2 separate regions of the Homo sapiens genome follow, and region 2 is linked to region 1. Evidence: promoter capture Hi-C in human tissues and cell types (Jung and others, 2019). All regions are on one chromosome and are shown on one strand. Each heading gives the region's core, a stretch centred on a gene start or on the middle of the fragment in contact. The rest is flanking DNA. Distances are from core to core; before and after follow the strand shown.

Region 1 (2,988 bases), core at 448-2,947:
CCCTGCATCCTCTGTCTGTGGGTGAGATGATCATAGTGATCAAACCTGGAAGATATGAAAGGCAGCGGGGATGTTTGAAAGAAAAAGTCTCCCTCCCCTGATCAAAAACTCCCCTCAACCTGCGTCCCCATATCCCCCACCTCCCCATATCCACCTCCTCATTCCCTGCCTCCCACATCCCTCATCCTGCTTGGGGGAAAAAATACCACAGCTTTTTCCTTTCCTGGAGGGAAACACTTGCCCAAGAGTCAGACAGGCCTGTCTTTGAAACCTAGCTCAGCTGCTTAACTAGTGATCCCTAGAAAGTCACTCCACCTCTCTGTGTCTCCGTTTTCCTGAGTCTAAGGTGGGGATATTGAGAACATCCCCACAGGGTCATGGGGTTACAGAAATGGCAGAACAAACAGGTGTCGAAGAAAGACTTAGCTCAGCACAACCCCCATCCACAGTAAGCATCCACTACATGTTAGATTTTCTCCCCATGGCCAACCCAGTCACAAAGGGGAGCCAAGGGAGCCCCTGGACCCAGTCCACTGTATGGTCCAGACTATGCTTGGAGTGTGGGTGGAGGCTGATGTGGAAAGACCAGAAGACAAGAAGGAGAGAGAGGCTCTGGTTCTCTGGCGGGGCTTCTCCGCAGGCTCTCGGGGACATTGGACTGCCCTCCCCACCCACCAACAATAGAGGGGCTGCTAGGGTCAAGGAGAAAGGCGAGGCAGGAATGGAGCTCCCAGTGTGGGTGCCTTCTCTTCCTTTACCCTCCTCCCCTGGAAGCAGAGGGTGAGAGATTTGCCCAGTGCAGAGGGCCCTGGTTAAGGTGGGGTGGGAAGAGGTGCCAGCCAAGCTGCAGATGGGACGGCCTAGGGAGAGGAGGGATACCTAGCTCGTGGGTGCATACATCCCCCTGTGCTGGTTCATGGGCATTAGTGGGGTTGCCTCCCTGTGCAGATGCATGGGCGTGTGTGAGATGTGTAAACACCTCTGATGGTCCCTGAGGAAGGGGCAAGGCTGGCAGAGGGTTATGGGGTAGAAAGGCTCATCCCTCTTTGCCTTCTCCCTCCAGCTAGGCTGGGCACATCTGGGCACATAGGAAGTCCCGGGTTCTTTTCTTGGCTTTGCAACTGATCCCGGGCGTGACCTTGGGCCAAACCCTTAACTCGTGCCCTGGGGCTCTGTTAACATCGCCTCCCAAAGGAGAGAAGAGGCCCTACTGACCACTTTCCAGGCCTGCCTCAGGGTCCAAAGGGGAAGGGAAGGAAACCGGGGTAAAAGGGGTCGGCACCGCGACCTTCGAGAACCCGCATGCTGTTCTCCACCAGGTCTCTCAGTCCTCCCTGCCCCAATCCCCATGCCCGCCTCCGCGACCCTGTGATGCCTCCCTTCTTGCACAGGAGCAGTGACCTCAGCACTTACTTAATCCTCTCCCGGCGCCGAGCTCAGTTGGAGAGGCTAGGGGTGGTAGTGACTGGCAGGAGGCCGGGGCGGGGGGAACCCCCAAGCCCGGCGTCTGGGGCTGCGGGTCCGACCCGAGATCCGCCCTCCCTGCAAGCCCCGAGCCGCTGGCCAGGCCCGCTACTGCGCACCAGCCGCATCCGCGAGCGCTGGCTCTGCCGGCCTGAGCTAGGGTGGGTAGGGCCGGGACCCACGGCGGAGGTGGGGCCGGGCCGAGCAGCCTCGGGGGATCCCCGAAGCTACAGCGCCTTGCCTCCCTGCACGCTCCGCGCCCCCGGCCTCCGATTGGCTGTCGGGCCTAGAGCCCGCCCAGAATTGGACCGTTCGCTTGTCGCTCGGGTCTGGCTCCACCCCCAGAGGGAGCCTAGAACCTGGTCGCAGTTTTTAGAGACTACCCTCACCCCGTGGCCTGCGCCGAAGTTGGGCGGAGGACAGTGGGTGGCCAGGCCCTTCCGGGCCAGAACTCGGGACCCCTGCCAGCTACCCGTGCCAGGACAGACTCAAGCCCCCAAAACGCGGATGGATGTACAGAGGAGACTTGGGGAGAGCACTGGACTGGGAGTCCTTGGGCCTGCACTGAACTCTGGCTGACTTTGTGACCTTGAAGAAACTGCTTTTCCCTTCCTGAACCTTGGCTTTCTACTCAGACGGGTCCTCTGGTGTGAGGGTTCTAGACGAAGATGGGGAATCTTCGTCTACAGAAGTTGAGAGTGGGGTGGATTTATTATTGGGCACCCCGACCCAGGCAAGTCTACATATACCCTCACAATAGCTTCCATCCACGGCATGATCAGCTCAGGGAAGGAGCCCTCAGATACTCCTGATCCGCCGGTTTTCAAAGTAGTTTATGGGAGTCACCGGGTAGCCTGGTACAAATGCAAACGCCCCTGTGTCTCCCGGTCTGGGAAGGAGGCAGGGAAACAGCATGTTTAATAGCAGTTTAAGGCCGGGCGTGGTGGCTCACTCCTGTAATCCCAGCACTTTGAGAGGCCGAGGCGATGGATCACCTGAAGTCAGGAGTTCGAGACCAGCCTGACCAACATGGTGAAACCCTGTCTCTATTAAAAATACAGAATTAGCCGGTCGTGTTGGCTCACGCCTGTAATCCCAGCTACTTGGGAGGCTGAGGCAGGAGAATGGCTTGAACCCGGAGGCCGAGGTTGCAGTGAGCAGAGATCGCGCCATTGTACTTCAGCCTGCGCAACAAGAGCAAAACTCCGTCTCAAAAAAAAAAAAAAAAAAAAAGAAAAAAAGAAAAAAAAAGTAGTTAACAGTGTTCTAGTTAACAGTACTTTCTGGTGGGGAGATGTTGACAAGACACACTTTGCGAGACGCTGCCGAGTATTTTATAGAAGGCGCAACTGAGGTCCAGAGGTCCCAACACCTGGAGGAGTTGCCAATAGAGTCAAGATTCGAATCGGTAAAAGAGCGGCCCCTGGGGTCTGGCCGCCAGTCGGCCGACCCCCTGGTGGGCTCGGGCCACTGACCTCGGTAGGGTCACGACACTGGGACTGGACCCCAAAGTTGGACCAGCCT
Region 2 (3,409 bases), core at 17-2,516, 1.0 Mb after region 1:
CACCTGCCTCGGCTTCCCAAAGTGCTGGGATTACAGGCGTGATCCACACCCGGCCTAAAGCTTTTCTTTTCCTCTCATGTTGAGCACTCTATGCAGTTTTCCTGAAAAATCCAAAACCTGCCTATTTCTTTAGTCTTGTCCTTGCTGCCATCCCGTAGTCATGGGCAGAGCAGCTAGCTATTCTACTAGTAAGAATAGCTATGAATAATCTAGTTTTAGTTGGTGTAGTGTGATGTGGCCCTTTTGTTTTCTTAGAGCAGTGGTTCTCAACCTGGTATGATTTTGCTTCTTAGGGAACAGTTTACAATGTGTGAAGACACTGGTTGTCAGGATTGTTGGGGGTGGGGTGGGGATGCTACTGTCATCTTGTGGATAGAGGCTGAGGATGCTATTAAACATCCTACAATGCATAGGAGAGCCCCTAGCTCACCCCAACAATTATCTGTCCCAAATGTCAATAGTACTGAGATCTGAGAAACCATTTCACAAAAGAAACTTACTTCAGCCCCTTTTTTTTTTTTTTTATGTTTTTTTGAGATGGAGTCTTGCTCTGTCGCCCAGGCTGGAGTGCAGTGGCGCGATCTCGGCTCACTGCAACCTCTTCCTCCCAGGTTTACGCCATTCTCCTGCCTCAGCCTCCTGAGTAGCTGGGACTACAGGCGCCCACCACCATGCGTGGCTAATTTTTTGTATTATTAGTAGAGACGGGGTCTCACCGTGTTAGCCAGAATGGTCTTGATCTCCTGACGTCGTGATCCGTCCGTCTCGGCCTCCCAAAGTGCTGGCATTACAGGCGTGAGCCACTGTGCCCGGCCACTTCAGCCCTTTTTATTTGAAGTTTCATCTCTACTGGATAACCACAGCTTACTTTTATATTGTTTGTCATAGTTTACACAAGCATGTGAACAATCTTATTCTTTTCAAAAAACTGTCTTTTGGGTTTGGTGTATTGTGTTTGTTTTCTTTGTAATTTCTACTTTCTAATTTTCTGTTTCTTTTGGGTTTATTTTGCCTTTCTTTTAGACTTCTTAGGAATGCGCGTAGCTTATTAATTTTCAGATGTTTTTCTACGTAAATATTTAAAGCTTTCTTTCAAACTTCTTAAGAATGTGCGTAGCTCATTAATTTTTAGATTTTTTTTCTATATAAGCATTTAAAGGTATAATTTTCCCTGTAAGCTTTAGCTCCATCCCCCCATAAGCATTTTGACACACTTTATCATACTTAATTGTCTTTCTTTTTTCTTTTTCTTTTTTTTTTTTTTTTTTTTTTGAGATGGAGTCTTGCTCTTTTGCCCAGGCTGGAGTGCAGTGGCATGATCTCAGCTCACTGCAACCTCCACCTCCTGAGTTCAAGCAGTTCTCCCACCTCAGCCTCCCGAGTAGTAGCTGGAATTACAGGCATGCACCACTATGCCTGGCTAAGTTTTTGTATTTAGTAGAGACAGAGTTTCACCATGTTGGCCAGGCTGGTCTCAAACTCCTGACTTCAGGTGATCCTCCTGCCTTGGCCTCCCAAAGTGCTGGGATTACAGGCATGAACCACTGTGCCCGGCCCATACTTAATTGTCTGGATAATCTTGTATGTTAGGTAGGGTAGATACATTTTACAGATGGGGAAACTGGGGCTCAGAAAGGTGAGTGGCTTACTCAGTATAACTTAGCAAGAAATTGGCAAAGCTGGACTTTTGGTCTTCAAGGCATTGCTCCTTTTTCAAACCAATGCTGCTTCTGAGACCATAGATTCTTATAATCGCCTTTCCTGTGATGTGTTTGCTTTCTTTCCTAGTTTCTGCTTTGAGGGAAGAAGGTGATTGTTAATTATTGTTGAGCAGAGGTGGAAGGACAGTTAGAAGTAACAGGAGGTATAAGGCAAAGTAGAAGGGAAAGTATGGCAAATGCTAAGGAATGATGAGCCGTCTTATTTGTTAATGCACTGGACACAAGAGGGGTAATCACCAGAGTGAGACTGGAGAGATGACCTATGGTTAGATCATGGAGTAGTTTAGAATTTGTTTTATAGGCAACATGGAATTGATGGGCGCTTTTTTTTTTTTTTTTTTTTTTTTTTTTTTTGACGGAGTCTCGCTCTGTCATCCAGGCTGGTGGCACAATCTTGGCTCACTGCAACCTTCACCTCCCAGGTTCAAGCGATTCTCCTGCCTCAGCCTCCTGAGTAGCTGGGACTACAGGCACGCGCCACCACATCCTGCTGATTTTTTGTATTTTCAGTAGAGACAGAGTTTTACCATGTTGGCCAGGCTGGTCTCAAACACATGAACTCAATTAATCCACACGCCTCAGCCTCCCAAAGTGCTGGGCTTACAGACATGAGCCACCGTGCCTGGCCGATGGGCCCTTTTACTGAGGAGCATCCATCAGACCTTTGACTTCAGGAATGGTACTCTAGCACTGTATCAAAGACATGGCCTGTAGACAGGGAGGATCAGTTAGGTCTGTAGTAGAACTCTATGGGAAAGGGTAATGAGGATTAGAACTGTTTGTGTCAGTCGATCACACAAGAGGAGTAAATGGTCAGACTTGTTGCACTGGATTTTATAGGACTTGGTGACTTACTGGATTTGTAGGGCAGATTGAAGAGGGATGGGTAAAAGCCCAGGAAGATCATGAGATCTTTTACAAAGGTGGGATGAACAGGATAGGGAGTGGATGGGGGAGTGAAAGATATTTTTGGCTTTGGTACAATAAGTCAGGCCATTGTTTCCTCCTTGATACTGACCTTTGTATGTTGAGTAGTGGGATAGTAGTGCAAGAACTGGTTATTATAGAACACGGAGGTTTGGCTGTTGGAGAACAGCACCATGACTTTGTCTTCAAACCAACCTTCAAGTGAGGAGAAGGTAGTGTTTTTTGTTTATAACATGTTAAAGGACCCATGACATGTTGTGAGACATTTTGGATTTGGTTTTTCATCCCCCTCTTTTTCTTTTCTCCTGATATCTGTCCTTAGCTTTCTCTGTTCTTTCAGAATGGTAGGGAAAGTTGGGTGTTAACACGTTTAGGGTCTGTTGTTATTAAAGGTAGGGGTTCAAAATGTGATACCTCTGGGATTGGCTTTCCTTATATAATAGTTTTTCTTTCTTTCATTCATTCAGTCTTCTTTTTTTTTTTTTTGAGACAGGGTCTCACCCAGGATCACCCAGGCTGGAGTGCAGTGGCGTGATCACGACTCACTGCAGCACCCCAGGGTCAGGTGGTCCTCCCACCTTAGCCTCCCAGGTAGCTGAGACTACAGGTGTGCGTCACCATGCCCAGCTAATTTTTGTATTTTTAGTAGAGACGGGTTTCACCATGTTGGCTGGGCTGGTCTCAAACTCCTGACCTCAAGTGATCCACCCACCTCGGCCTCCCAAAGTGCTGGAATTACAGGCGTGAGCCACCGCTCCCGG

Evidence for each region. Contacts are between HindIII fragments. The study calls those that stand out against the background at their distance.
Region 2: a contact is called between a fragment that was not itself captured here and the fragment with the promoter of C3orf18 in region 1, in 1 of the 25 tissues and cell types used here (stomach).

What each region holds. Positions count from the first base shown.
Region 1 is chr3:50,566,050-50,569,037 of GRCh38, forward strand. It overlaps C3orf18 (chromosome 3 open reading frame 18), which reads right to left and starts at 1,698. Exons shown (of 6, transcript NM_016210.5): 1 at 1,414-1,698; 2 at 1-45. RefSeq lists a silencer at 1,330-1,839. The HindIII fragment of the contact is 29,907 bases long and covers 1-2,988 here.
Region 2 is chr3:51,592,817-51,596,225 of GRCh38, forward strand. The region is part of intron 3 of RAD54L2 (RAD54 like 2); the gene reads left to right. Among named protein-coding and RNA genes, the nearest start is that of RAD54L2, 56 kb to the left of the region's middle. RefSeq lists a silencer at 655-858. The HindIII fragment of the contact is 4,263 bases long and covers 1-3,398 here.